Regions from separate parts of the Homo sapiens genome. Here regions 1, 2 and 4 are each linked to region 3. The links are contacts of gene promoters, found by promoter capture Hi-C in blood cells and fetal thymus (Javierre and others, 2016). All regions are on one chromosome and are shown on one strand. The core of a region is centred on a gene start or on the middle of the fragment in contact, and the rest is flanking DNA. Distances in the headings are between cores, read along the strand shown.

Region 1 (3,295 bases), core at 293-2,792, 1.1 Mb before region 3:
TAAGTACAGTTGGGAGAAGACCTTATCTCTATCTTCAGGAATATAAGTGAAGGAAAGGAAATTTTTTTCTTTTTTTTGAGACAGTCTTACTCTGTCGCCAAGGCTGGAGTGCAGTGGCACTGTGTCAGCTCACTGCAACCTCTGTCTCCTTTGTTCAAGCAATTATCCTGCCTCAGCCTCCTGAGTAGCTGGGATTACAGGTGCCCACCACCATGCCTGGCTAGTTTTTATATTTTTAGTAGAGATGGGATTTCACCATGTTGGCCAGGCTGGTCCTGAACTCCTGACTTAAGGTGATCCACCTGCCTTGGCCTCCCAAAGTGCTGGCGTGAACCGGGCCAGTGAGCCACCGCACTGGGCCTGGGAAATTTGTTCATTTGCTTTATCCTACTTTCTCATTCTTTATTGAACTAGGATTTTTTTGTCTTTATTGTATGTGTCTGAAAGCCAGTTTGTTACTCTTAAGACACTACTCAAATAGAAATATAATGTGGCCACGTGCGATGGCTCATGCCTGTAATCCCAGCACTTTGGGAGGCCGAGGTGGGTGGATCACAAGATCAGGAGTTTGAGACCTGCCTGGCCAGTATGGTGAAACCCCGTCTCTGCTAAAAATACAAAAATTAGTTGGGCATGGTTTCACATGAGTGTAGTCCCAGCTGCTTGGGAGGCTGAGGCAGGAGAATGGCTTGAACCCGGGAGGCTGAGGTTGCAGTGAGCCAAAATTGTGCCACTGCACTCGAACCTGGGCGACAGAGCGAGACTGTCTCAAAAAAAAAAAAAAAAAAAAGGAGGGGGGGAATGTAATACGTCATACATGTACTTATCTTTCCAGTAACCATTTTTAAAAGTTAAAAAAAATTGTCTGGGCACAGTGGCTCAAGCCTGTAATCCCGGCACTTTGGGAGGCCGAGGCAGGCGGATGACCTGAGGTCAGGAGTTCAAGACCAGCCTGGCCAACATGTCTCTACTTAAAATACAAAAAAATTAGCCTGGCGTGGTAGTACGCACCTGTAATCCCAGCTACTTGGGAGGCGGAGGCAGGAGAATTGCTTGAACCCGGGAGGCGGAGGTTGCAGTGAGCCGAGATCACACCATTGTACTCCAGCCTGGGGGACGAAAGCGAGAGTTCGTCTCCAAAAAAAAAGTTAAAAAAGTTAATTTTAATAGTGTATCCTATTTGACAGAATATATCAAAAATATAGTTTCAGCATATAGTCAATACAGAATGTATTAAATATCTTGTATTCTTTTTTCATTTCAAATCTTCAAAATCTGGTGTGTATTTTACACTTTTATGGTATATCAAAATAAATTTTCGTGGGGAATTCTTGATCTGTAATTAGAATAAGATGATTCTGATTCATGTCCCTAAGGTGTTCCAAGTATACTTGAATGCTATCTAATTGAATCCAGCACCAGTTTTTAAAAGTAAACTAATTAAGATATAATTAAACACTTACTCCCTCAGTCACATGCCACATTGTAAGTGCTCAAACTCCATGCATGGCTAGTGCTATACCATAAGACACTCAATGAGCAGAACTTGACCTAAAACCCACTAGGGCACTATGCAAAGGATTACAATTCCTTCTGGCATCACCACCTACTACGGTTTTTCCTAAGGGAGTGTTTAATCCATTGGGCTTGGAACATGAAAAATGACAGGGAAGGACGTGTTACATTGCTGCAGATTTAACAATAACATAACTATATAGACACAAAATAAAAACGACTTTCTCAGGCCCACAAACTGACACATGAAAATAATTCATTCCAATTGGGATTAAGTGACAAGCAGGTTTTGCATCTGTCCTGACACATTTCCCCAAATTCTTCATTATAGGACTAGCACCACTACTACTCTCTGTGATGGCTTATCTATCTACTAAGAGAGTGTGATTAAGAATATTACAGGTTTGAGTGAGTGTATGTTCGGGGCAATTTGAATCTATGCTCCTGGAATAATAAAAATTAAAGAAAGACAAGTTTGGGTCATAAAATCTAACATTTGTGAATTGGTTATTTGATTTGGCCTCTTTTGCCATTTTAAAATAAGAGTAATAAAATCTATCTCACAAGAATATGAGATACGAGATAATCCATGTAAAGCACTTAACAATTTTCAACAAACTTTCAGTGTATCTTAGGCATTACTTTCCTCTTTCACCCTTTCTTTTGTCCCTTTTGTAATACTTTGAAAATTTTAGGTATTGTTAATCATTGCTTATTTAGAAAGTAAGATCAATCTTTTATCAGGTCTTCCCTTAGCTCGCTCTTGATGCTACTCTTACAGCGATTTCAGAAAAGCCTTACTATCCAATTCAAGCCAAATCAGGACATAAGCCGCCTAAATGTTTTTTGTTTTTTTTTTTTCCCCCAGATTGATGCCTGTAGCTCCTGGGGAAAGTGGAAGTCAGATAACTCCTTTATGAAAAGGCAGCATTCAAAAACTATAAAAAATATAAATCCAACATTATTAAAATTTTGCACATCCAAAGATATCACGAACAGTTAAAAACAAACCCACAAGGTGACAGAATATATTTGTCACATACTGACAAAAAGTTAAAACTCAAATATATAAAGAATATTTACAAATCAAATCTCATAAAATAAAAACTGTAGAGAATCTGAATAGACCATTCCGAGGAAAGCGGGAAAATCTCCAAATAGCCAAAAATCTCATTTAGAAAAACTCCGATTTCACATTAGGAAATGCTGATAAACAATAACTCTCAAGCACTGCTGGTGGAATATGGGAGTATAAATTTAAAATACTACCCTGGAAAGCAAATTGTTCATTTTTATTCATGTTGAATATGCACATTTACCAAATAATTCCACTTCCATGTAACCAGAAAATGCACAGCTGTATACAGTGCTGTTTTGTAATGAGGAAAAAAAATCAACAGAGAAATGAATAAAGTATTTACTGACACATTAGAAAACTAGATTAATGGTAAAAATAACCTAGAACTGCACATTTCAACACGGATATATTTCAAGAGCAAATGTAAAAATTCATGACGATTAAAATAGATTAGGGGTATGTGCATCTAAAGTTAAAACGCGTGGGAACAGTAAACAAATTTAGAATATCAGTTTATCCTAGAATATTAGTTAATTCTAGATAGGAAAAAGGGAGGGCTGTGCTACTGAGAAAGGGACATAAGGATTTTAGATGCACTTGAATAAGTGGTGTGGTCACCAGCGCATTTTGTATACTTGATATATTCCAGTATTTAAAAGGCAAACATATAAAGGAATATTATTACTAAGACTCTTAAGACTG
Region 2 (3,451 bases), core at 528-3,027, 1.2 Mb before region 3:
TCCCGGGTTCAAGTGATTTTCCTGCCTCAGCCTCCCAAGTAGCTGGGACTAAGGGCGCGCACCACCACGCCCGGTTAATTTTTGTATTTTTAGTAGAAACGGAGTTTCACCGTATTGACCAAGCTGGTCTCACAGAATTCTTAAGGATCCTCCCTACTGTCCGCGTTGCTGAGAGTCCGGATTTATTCGTCACTTCGGGCGGGACTCGATCCTCCGCTCCTGGGGCCACCACGAGGCAATGGGACGCGTCTCCCCATGAAAGATAATCGCTAGCCCCTCCCGAAGGAGAATGGGATCCCGGACGAGTCCCTAAGATTTACTGGAAACAAGTGCTTGGTGTAGCCAAAAGAAACCCTCACTTAGAAAATTCCTCAGCAAGGCATCTTTACTTCTGCAGAAGGGTGCTCCTTGCCTGTTACAATTGCAAGAGCACACCAAACAAAGGAGGTAAGGAGTTTTTAATCCTAACGCAGTTCCTGTTTCTGTGTCCTTCCCCTATTGGCTGGGGTTGGACCGCACAATCTAAGCTGATCCCGATTGGCTAAGACTTAAACTTTGGCAAATAGGGTAAACCCTGGATTTGCGAAAAAAAGGAGTGTATGTGTGTGGTGGGGGGCGGGGGGCAGGCAGGATTGACGTACAACTTTTGCAACTTATGACAAGAAAGTTGAGTCTTTGAAGAGGGACTTAGTTGTCCCAACACTCTGAGTTGCCTGACCCGGTCCTGGGCTCAGTTCCTCCCAGATACCGGCGTTTATCATTGGTGTAGATAATGGTGACTTCCCTTGTCTTAGATGTGGGTGTCTTGGTCTTCCCGGGACGGAAGGAGTCAGAGACTCTTGAAAGGAGCCGTCCCGCTGGTCCTTTCATTTACGCCGATGCCAGCCCGGCACTCGAGCATCACCAAGGGCCCGGTGCCCGGCACTGCAGGGCCAAGTCTGATTTTATCGTTTGTGGAGCTGCAAGCTTAGGACGCACAGCTGTGAATTTCGGGTCCTGGTGACTGCGGAACCACCGCGAGGCCAGGAGGCGAGACAGTGCACTTTCCCAGGTTCCCAGGCCTAAGAGCCCACCTGGCTGGAATGGTCTCAAGGAGCAGAGAGGAATCCGCACCCTCCGAGTCCTCCGAACCCTCCGATCCTGCGAACCTGCGGCGGCTCTGCGGTTGGTTCCGTGAGGAACTGGCCGCGATCGCAAGCTTGGAGCTGCTTTTTGGTTTGTTCTGAGTCCTTCACCTGGTGAGGGGAAGGAAGCCCTGCTTGGGGTCGTTGAATCTGAGTTTTCTCCAGTCAGAATCAGTGGTTTGAGATTGTTTTCCCTGAAACAGCATGGTTTTCCTGTGCCTACAGTGAGGAATTCTCCTTTTCTTAAAAAAAAATATATTTTATTAATAAAAGGGAAAGTAACGCTTCTATTACAAAAAAAAAAAAATTCAGCGGGCATGGATCAGGTATGATTTAAATAAACATAAGAAAAGACCCTCCCACCAAGGAGGCCGGTTAGCTCAGTTGGTTAGAGCGTGGTGCTAATAACGCCAAGGTCGCGGGTTCGATCCCCGTACGGGCCACTTCCGTGGGTTTGTTTTTTTTTTTTTTCTTCTTTTTCGTTTTTATTTTACACCGACCACACCTCGCTTGTAAACTTCGGTTTTACATCGAACTCCGTAGCCTCGCCTATCCATTTATAAATGTAGTTGCACTAGCTAGACAGGAATTTTTTTCTTTTTTCTTTTTTTTTTTTCTTAAATCGACCACACCTGGATTGTATACTACCGTCTTACATCCAACTCCGGAGCGCTGCCTATCCATTTGTAAATGTGGTCGCAATAGCTAGACAAGCATTAGATTTGCACGTTTTTTATTCTTTTGAAGAAATAATATACGAGTTAGGATGAAAAGGTTTTTCTTATTTGTTTGTTTTGTTTGTTTTTGAGACAGAGTCTTGCTCTGACGCCCAGGCTGGAGTGCAGCGGCGCGATCTTGGCTCGCTGCAACCTCCGCCTCCCAGGTTTAAGCAATTCTTCTGCCTCAGCCTCCCAAGTAGCTGGGATTACAGGCGTGTGCCACGATGCCTGGGTAATTTTTGTATTTTCAGTAGAGACGGAGTTTCACCATGTTGGCCAGGCTAGTCTTGAACTCCTGACCTCAGGTGATCCGCCTGCCTTGGCCTCCCAAAGTGCTGAGATTACAGGCATGAGCCATCGCGCCCGGCCAGGATGAAGATTTTTTAAAGGAAATTCAATGAGGTGGGTGGGTGATTTTAGAAAAGGGTTAAATAAGAATTCGATAATGTCTTGTATTATTTTGGGAAAAAAAAACTTTCTGAGATAATACTATTTTGACATATTTTAAGCTTTTGAAAGAGATCATATTGATTCTTCTCCTAGTTGATCACTCAGTTGGTTAAATTGTTGTGTTTGTAGCTTTGAGGGCGAGGGTTCAGTCTACGTGGGAAAAAGCCAGACTTGTGACGTTGCTTTCTGCCAAGCTCCAGACACTCAGCCACAACTGCTCAGTGTTAAAATAGATCCGTGGTTAGCCTTAGGCTTATATTTGACAGCTGTTCTCGATGTGGCCCATACCAAGCCATTTACGATGCGGCCCTTACCAAGCCATTTACAGTTCATTAAACAATTTTTGAACATATATCGTAAAAGCGATAGGTTTGAAATGTGACAAAAATGGAGTGCGTGGTGGGAGACAGGAGGGCCAGAGCCTCTGGGTCCACTCTAAGTCTTAGCACCTCGCTCTTTCTGTCCTGCGCTTTCTTTTTTTTTTTCTTTTTTTCTTTTTCTTTTTTTTTTTTTTTTTTGAGACGGAGTCTCGCTCTGTCGCCCAGGCTGGAGTGCAGTGGCGCAATCTCGGCTCACTGCAAGCTCCGCCTCCCGGGTTCACGCCATTCTCCTGCCTCAGCCTCCCAAGTAGCTGGGACTACAGGCGCCCGCCACTACGCCCGGCTAATTTTTTGTATTTTTAGTAGAGACGGGGTTTCACCGTTTTAGCCGGGATGGTCTCGATCTCCTGACCTCGTGATCCGCCCGCCTCGGCCTCCCAAAGTGCTGGGATTACAGGCGTGAGCCACCGCGCCCAGCCCTGTCCTGCGCTTTCTTGGAGTCTGGTCACTGGGTCCCCGTGTGCCTGGCACGTGTCTCATTTACATTTCTTCCTTCACTCTTCATCCTCCCAACATATTTTTACCCTTCTCTTATTTTAAAACATGGGTTGCTATGAAAATGACATTAACAATATTGATAAATAATGAGGTAAATAATGGCTCAAAAACAGCGCCAAGGACATAGTGGGCGAATCACAAAGGGAAGGGGCTCCCTCTGTTTTGCTCAGTGCTGTGATTTTTCACGTCAAAAACAGTAAGTAGCTCAAAGTCAGCGACTGAAAAAGATTTCTTTAGAATAAATTAATGAAGAGTACCTACTACTTAGTCCATTGTATAT
Region 3 (3,496 bases), core at 899-3,398:
GGAATTTCTGAAACCTTTCACAAGAATTGGATTCCTTTGTAATGCTTTAATTGACTTAGGAGTGTTATTGAAATCTACAAAGCATCTCAAACATAGTAGGATTACACTATTACTCAGAAACATTTTCTATGAGACGTCTTTCTCTTGATTATGCTCTTTGAATCCTAAACTTGCAGCGTTCTGCAGCTTTTGTTTTCTAAAGCCTAGGTGTACTCTGCCAGTCACAAAATGGCGTTTCTCCAGCACTGCCGCCAGGTACCACCAGCTGGGAGTTGTTCCTCTTGCGGAGCAGGAGGTGGACTTGGCCCAAGAGAAACTGGATAGTGGTTCGCAAGGAACATAATTTAGCATTGCCAAGAGCTAATGCAATCATTTTGAAAATCTCAAAACACTGAAAAGTGGATTGTGACCTTTTTAAATTCACAAGAGACAGGCCACATTCTATCTTTTGATTGGTTTAGGCTATTTTCTTGAACAGCCATTTAGAAAGCAGATCTATCATCCTTCATTTGCATGGAGCGTTCCCATTTTATTTGAAACCAGTTTAACCCAATAGAAAAAAGGGAGGCAGAACCCATTATTTAAAGTGGAAACTCCTGAATCAGATAATTAGGAGTATTTCCTTTTCAAAAGTTGCGTTTTTTCAGATACCTCGCTTATTACACTAAGAAAGGTTTATATCTTTCACAAAGGGTTTACTTACAAAAATCTTCCAATTTTGTATACCTGTGTTTCATAACTGACTAGCCGTCAAACCAAGATGTAGAGTTTCCAACCGTTATTTTCCAAATTTTTAGAAATTACGTGAAATATTTGAATGCATGCCTTCTCAATAAAATGGGACGTAGGAAGCACTGGTGCAGAAGATGGGTACAATACTTATCTGGGACCACTCCATTATTTGGTTGGCACGTTGTTTGAACAAAAAGGGGAAAAGCTCAGGTTACTTAGCATGGTTCGGACTTATTTGAAAACTACCACAGCAGGAGCGGAAATAAGACCGCATTACCTCACTCTCTGCTGTGCTGTGCTAGGGGGTTATCCAGAATAGGATTGTAGAAGTGGATGTCGATTTAATAGTTTTTTATTCTCCCATTAGCTGAGTCTCTGATTGGCAATGTGAGATCGTTTTAGCTTATTGATACTTTGAAATGCACTTAACAGCCACAAACAAGTTAAAGGGTTGTTACCATAAAATCTTATCCCCAGGGTGTGCTTGCATTTATCACCCGTGTTTGCTTTCACACTAAGTGGACTTAACTCCCCAGCAGAATGCCTGTCAGGGAACCGGTTTCGTGGACCCAGCATTTAACGCCTTTCGCAGGCTTGTGAGGCCCATAAATATTTGTTGAATAAAAGAATGAGTTGACCATGTCATGGTGCGCTGATTGCGTGTGCTGACATGGAACACAGGTTGTAAACCTTAATACCAATTTGGGGCATGTTGTATGGATGAAAAGGGCATTGGAAATTCCTGAAGTGCATCCCACATTGGACTGTGGAAATAAGTTGCAAGTGCAGAAACGTTTCCACACTTGCAGTTTGAGTATTAATTGCAGCGTTTGTGAATTCTGGTGTTGTCTACGATTCATTCTTGTTTGACGTGAAAGGTATTCGCGAGACACATCGCTCTAAAACATTGCCAGAAAATGTAATAGAGTTGATGACAACTGGCCCTAACACGGCCTAAAACTCGCACTTTTCTCTCCCTCCGCAACTATTCAAAACACTGTATTTTACATTTCTTGCAAATTAAAAACTAACATCTCTGGCAACGGACCTCTAAAAATTTCTAATAAAACTCCTCGGATGCTTGTGGCACTGCATTTGTAAACCGCCCCCTCTCAACCTACTCCCTAAAAAAGAGCTGCTTTTTGAGAGAGAAGCGGTACCCTCTGATGTTACTGGGCGGCAGTCTGCCTACAATTTCCTTCACAATGAGGCAACCAGAGCGGCTTTTTCTGTGTGTTTGCTTGCGTTGAGGGGAGCAGGACCATAGGCCCTAGAGGCCCCCAGCTGCCTTCTGAGACTGGGCGAAACCCTCGGCAGCGCGCAGGGGGCGCTAGGGCGCGAGGGGCGGGCACTGACGGGCACCAATCACGGCGCAGTCCCACCCTATAAATAGGCTGCGTTGGGGCCTTTTTTTCGCATCCTGCTTCGTCAGGTTTATACCACTTTATTTGGTGTGCTGTGTTAGTCACCATGTCTGAAACAGTGCCTCCCGCCCCCGCCGCTTCTGCTGCTCCTGAGAAACCTTTAGCTGGCAAGAAGGCAAAGAAACCTGCTAAGGCTGCAGCAGCCTCCAAGAAAAAACCCGCTGGCCCTTCCGTGTCAGAGCTGATCGTGCAGGCTGCTTCCTCCTCTAAGGAGCGTGGTGGTGTGTCGTTGGCAGCTCTTAAAAAGGCGCTGGCGGCCGCAGGCTACGACGTGGAGAAGAACAACAGCCGCATTAAGCTGGGCATTAAGAGCCTGGTAAGCAAGGGAACGTTGGTGCAGACAAAGGGTACCGGAGCCTCGGGTTCCTTCAAGCTCAACAAGAAGGCGTCCTCCGTGGAAACCAAGCCCGGCGCCTCAAAGGTGGCTACAAAAACTAAGGCAACGGGTGCATCTAAAAAGCTCAAAAAGGCCACGGGGGCTAGCAAAAAGAGCGTCAAGACTCCGAAAAAGGCTAAAAAGCCTGCGGCAACAAGGAAATCCTCCAAGAATCCAAAAAAACCCAAAACTGTAAAGCCCAAGAAAGTAGCTAAAAGCCCTGCTAAAGCTAAGGCTGTAAAACCCAAGGCGGCCAAGGCTAGGGTGACGAAGCCAAAGACTGCCAAACCCAAGAAAGCGGCACCCAAGAAAAAGTAAATTCAGTTAGAAGTTTCTTCTAGTAACCCAACGGCTCTTTTAAGAGCCACCTACGCATTTCAGGAAAAGAGCTGTAGTACACAGATGAAATCCCCCAAGCAAATGCAACACGCCCTCAATTATATTAGAATCACTTGGAGAGTCGATAGAACTTTAACATAGCCTCATCTAGTAAGAATTTACTACTCAATCTATCAAAGATAGCAAGGTGAATTCAAATGCACCGAGTTAAAATCGAGTTTTAAAGTCACCTGGGTTTCGGTAGCCGGAAGTCCCGCGTCTCACGACTCCAAGCTAATTAGTCATAACCGTATTGAACCAAGGTTGAAGCCCAGTCCCAGGCTTGAGGCTTTTTATTATACAAGGTTAAAGTGGGGATATTGCGTTTTGGGGTCAATATTGCTAAAGTAGCATTTTCCGAAATTGGGTGGTCCTAAGAAATGCTTCTGGGATAGTTGGCAAAATATATGGCTTAACCACGCCCTCTCCACAGGAGTGGCTAGCGAGCTGTCTGTCCTTGGGAAGGACGGTGACCCTGCTGGCGTGGCTGGCGCCCACGTTGGCGTCCTCTGAAAGCCCCGCCAGGTAGGCCTAGCTCGCTTGCTTTCTGCAGCGCCATCATGACAAAGCTTTGAAACGCAAAATG
Region 4 (3,553 bases), core at 442-2,941, 1.1 Mb before region 3:
TTTGTTTGTTTGTTTGTACCTTACTGAGCTAGTGCCATCATGCATTTACCACCCTTAAATCTTTAGAACAATCTTAGAAGGTGGTAACTTTCATTAATTTCCATGGAGAGATGAGAATGATAAAACATAGAAATATTAAAAAGTCATTTCAAGACCATGAATGCCATAGGTAGAGTAAAACAGTTTTCTTTCTGAAAATGTGGTTGGCAGACTGTGTAAGATACTTCCATACCAATATTAGTGCATTCATAAAATGCAAGCTTTTAATCTCACAATTCCCCTGTTTATACCAGATTTCTAGCAATGCTCACTCAAAGCTGCAAAACATTATTGTGAACCAGAGAACTTCACACCTCTAAGATAAACATGTGCTTTGCACTGAGTATCATATGGTACACGCCAAGCAAGCTCTCTACTTTTCGAGCAAATCATACAGCATGGGTTTTATTGAGCCCTATTACTCACTTGTCACTACAATTTTATTCTGTAATAGATCTAGGACCCTAGCTCTCTCACTAAGAGATAGCCTCTGAGTCAGAGTCCATAGATTTCTGCTACTCAGGCCAGTAAGATCTGAGAAAATGTGTTCTGGAGAATTGCAAGATCAAAATGTTTATTGCTTTAGCAGTTTTATCATTCACTTGTGGCAAAATAATTGACAAGAACTGATCCTTTAGGGTCAATACATACTTGATCCCTGTCTTCACTCTTGTAAGACTGAGTCAAGATAAAATAGACTAAAAAGAAAATTGAAGTAGAATGTGATACAAGTGAACATGAATAACCACTACAAATGCTATTAAATTACTGAGAAGAGGCCTAGAACCTGACCTGTTGGAGAGATGATATCCTACAGTATAAGGCAGCTCAGCTCAATTACAATATCTCTGAGTTTCAGAATCCATGTCAGCTGGATGGACAGTTGGAGAAGAAATGGGGGCTATTTTAGCCCCAAGAAGGAAAGAACAAATCTCTTTTGCTGAAATTTTTGATAAGTTGCTAAAAGTATGAGTATTCTTTTTTTTTGAGACCGAGTCTTACTCTGTCACTCAGGCTGGAGTGCAGTGGTGTGATCTTGGCTTACTGCAACTTCCACTGCCTGGGTTCAGGCAATTCTCGTGCCTTAGCCTTCCGAATAGCTGGGACTACAGGCCTATGCCACTATGCCAAGCTAATTTTTGTATTTTTAGTAGAGACGGGGTTTCACCATGTTGGCCATGCTGGTCTCGAACTCCCGACCTCAGGTGATCTGCCCGCCTCGGCCTCCCAAAGTGCTGGGATTATAGGCATGAGCCACCACACCTGTTTGAATACTAACCTTCCACCAGGGCCAGGAGGGACGAAGTGCCATTAATGTGTTCTCAGAGTGCTGTGCTACTAACTAGAACTGGGCTCATGGAAGCGCCTCTGGGGATCTGCCTGTCTCCAGCCACCTCCTACTGGTCCTAGGTAGCACCAACTACTTCTTTCCAGCCACCTCCGTATCTCAGATCAGCTCTCCTCCACTCCCGCCTCACCCAGTCTACTTGGCTCTTTAGAACTCATTCTAGAAACTGAACGGGCTAGAAATGGGGGCTGTTCTTCTGGGCCATTATTCCCCCCCACCCAAATTCCTTCAATTACTCAAATTTCTTTAATTTTCTCCAGATGATCAAAGGTTACAGTTTTTCAGCATTGGTCCAGCTAGGATACTTAGAAACGCGTGATTAATAATTTGTCTTTTGTGTTTTAAGAAAGATCTCCACAACAAACCTGGATCCCCTTTTGAACAGTCCTTTCCTCATGCCTACCAGTGTTTGAAAGTAAAAGTTTTCCATTAAAAAAAAATTACCTCAGTTTCTTCACATACAGCCAATGCCAACAAGACTGTAGGGCTTGGGTAGGGTTGGGAAGAGAATCTTTGGAGAGGGGAAAAAAAAGACAAGGCAACAAGCGTAGACACTCTCTGCTTGGCTGACTGGTTGGGGCACCATGATGAATACTAGTGTTTTTTGTGTACAGATTAGATCGTAAGTCAATTCAATTTTGCAAGGGTTTTTCCGAGACTGTCTCCACTCCAGTATGTTGAAAAATTGAGGCGACGTCAAGGTACTGCTCAGTACGTTGAGAAATTGAGGCGACATCAAGGTACTGCCGTGACTCGGATTCGAACCGAGGTTGCTGCGGCCACAACGCAGAGTACTAACCACTATACGATCACGGCACGCCACCAGAGGCCGCTGCTTGTGGGGCTCTTCCTTTGCTTATTTCCCAGAAACGTCTGTTTTTGTCATCTAAAGAATGGTGCAGTCTTTCGTCCTTATTTACACACCTACCCAGTTTACTTCCTTATCCACTCCCCGTCCCCAATATTTTGCTTATGGCAAAGAAGCCAAAGGTAACACATTAAGTTTCATTATATGGAATTTTCCCAGCGTGGTGGTTGTTTTTGGGGGTTGGTAATACTGTGCTTGTAAACTCATTATTCTCACTTCTATCTCCAACCCACGCATGTTTCTTGCTCAGTTTAGCAGTGTGGTCCTCAGATCTTTGGCAACAAAAGGAAGAGGGCGCTGCTTTGAAGTGGACCTGCCAGATCCCATTTTTTGCCAAACTAGTCAGAATCTTCGGGGGCTTGGCATGGAATCTGGCATCTCGACAGGTGCCAGAAGTGAGTTTCTCATCACGAGGAACTATGTGGCTTCGTCCTGACCCAGGTACCTATGAGAAGCCAGTGAGGCGCTCGCGCACTCAGCCTGCCCACCTGAGCCGTCAGGAAATGTCCGGCGGCGCTCGCACCTCAGAGTGAAATTTCTTTCTCCCTTTCATACCTAGTTTGCCAGAAGAGGGAGATAAAAGTGCCTCTCCTGTGGCTCCAAAGCTCCGTGGGACTTCCCTCCTGCCCCGCTTGCTGTTTTAGGAACGTAGCCTCTAGAGTCAAGGTCCTGGTCGTGTTTTCCCCTTGATACCAAATGATTTTCTTTCTGTAAAATCATTCTGGTCTTAAACTCCTGAACTCAACTGATCCGCCCCTCTCGGCTTCCCAAAGCGCTAGGATTACAGGAGTGAGCCACCGCGCCCGGCCTCTTCTCTTTACCTGGTTAAATTTGTTTAATGCTTCAGCTTCAACTCAAGAAAGCTTTTCAAATCAAGGAAGCTTTTCTTGACCTCCCGTCTCCACGCAACACATGGTTCCTTGGTTTTTTTTTTTTCCTTCCCTCCCTTCTTTCCCTCCTTCCTTCCTTCCTCTCTCCCTCCCTCCTTCCCTCTCTCTTTCTTTTCTTTTCTTCTTTCCTTCCTTCTTTCTTTCTCTCTCTCTCATTCTCTTTCTTCCTTCCTTCCTTTTCTTTCTTTCTTTCTCTTTCTTCTTCTTTTTTTTTTTCTCAGAGTCTCGCTCTGTTGCCCAGGCTGGAGGGCAATGACACAATCTCGACTCATTGCAACCTCCACCTCCCGGGTTCAAGCGATTCTCCTGCCTCAGCCTCCCGAGTAGCTGGGATTACAGGCGTAAGCTACTACGCAGGGCTAATTTTTGTATTTTTATTAGAGAGGGGGTTTCACCATGTTGGCCAGG

The links. Contacts are between HindIII fragments. The CHiCAGO score rates a contact against its expected background, and 5 or more counts as called.
Region 1: a contact is called between a fragment that was not itself captured here and the fragment with the promoter of H1-1 in region 3, in 13 of 17 cell types (naive CD8 T cells, fetal thymus, activated CD4 T cells and 10 more). The highest score is 21.6, in naive CD8 T cells.
Region 2: a contact is called between a fragment that was not itself captured here and the fragment with the promoter of H1-1 in region 3, in 1 of 17 cell types (naive CD8 T cells). The highest score is 5.1, in naive CD8 T cells.
Region 4: a fragment that was not itself captured here is called in contact with the fragment with the promoter of H1-1 in region 3 in 5 of 17 cell types (activated CD4 T cells, naive CD4 T cells, fetal thymus and 2 more); the score reaches 13.5 in activated CD4 T cells.

What each region holds. Positions count from the first base shown.
Region 1 is chr6:27,140,132-27,143,426 of GRCh38, reverse strand. It overlaps a transcript of H2BC12 not described here. Among named protein-coding and RNA genes, the nearest start is that of H4C9, 2.5 kb to the right of the region's middle. RefSeq lists an enhancer at 3,005-3,295. The HindIII fragment of the contact is 4,423 bases long and covers 1-3,295 here.
Region 2 is chr6:27,175,331-27,178,781 of GRCh38, reverse strand. It overlaps TRI-AAT5-2 (tRNA-Ile (anticodon AAT) 5-2), which reads left to right and starts at 1,494; the gene lies at 1,494-1,567. RefSeq lists enhancers at 337-396, 747-846, 1,037-1,236, a silencer at 1,439-1,588 and a cis regulatory region at 578-1,655. The HindIII fragment of the contact is 1,154 bases long and covers 1,201-2,354 here.
Region 3 is chr6:26,016,439-26,019,934 of GRCh38, reverse strand. H1-1 (H1.1 linker histone, cluster member) reads left to right here and starts at 2,148. Exons shown (of 1, transcript NM_005325.4): 1 at 2,148-2,903. The coding sequence starts at 2,203. The coding sequence ends at 2,850. It also overlaps the pseudogene H3P26. RefSeq lists an enhancer at 2,956-3,496. The HindIII fragment of the contact is 5,921 bases long and covers 1-3,481 here.
Region 4 is chr6:27,156,777-27,160,329 of GRCh38, reverse strand. It overlaps TRH-GTG1-5 (tRNA-His (anticodon GTG) 1-5), which reads right to left and starts at 2,203; the gene lies at 2,132-2,203. RefSeq lists a silencer at 2,043-2,092. The HindIII fragment of the contact is 2,858 bases long and covers 263-3,120 here.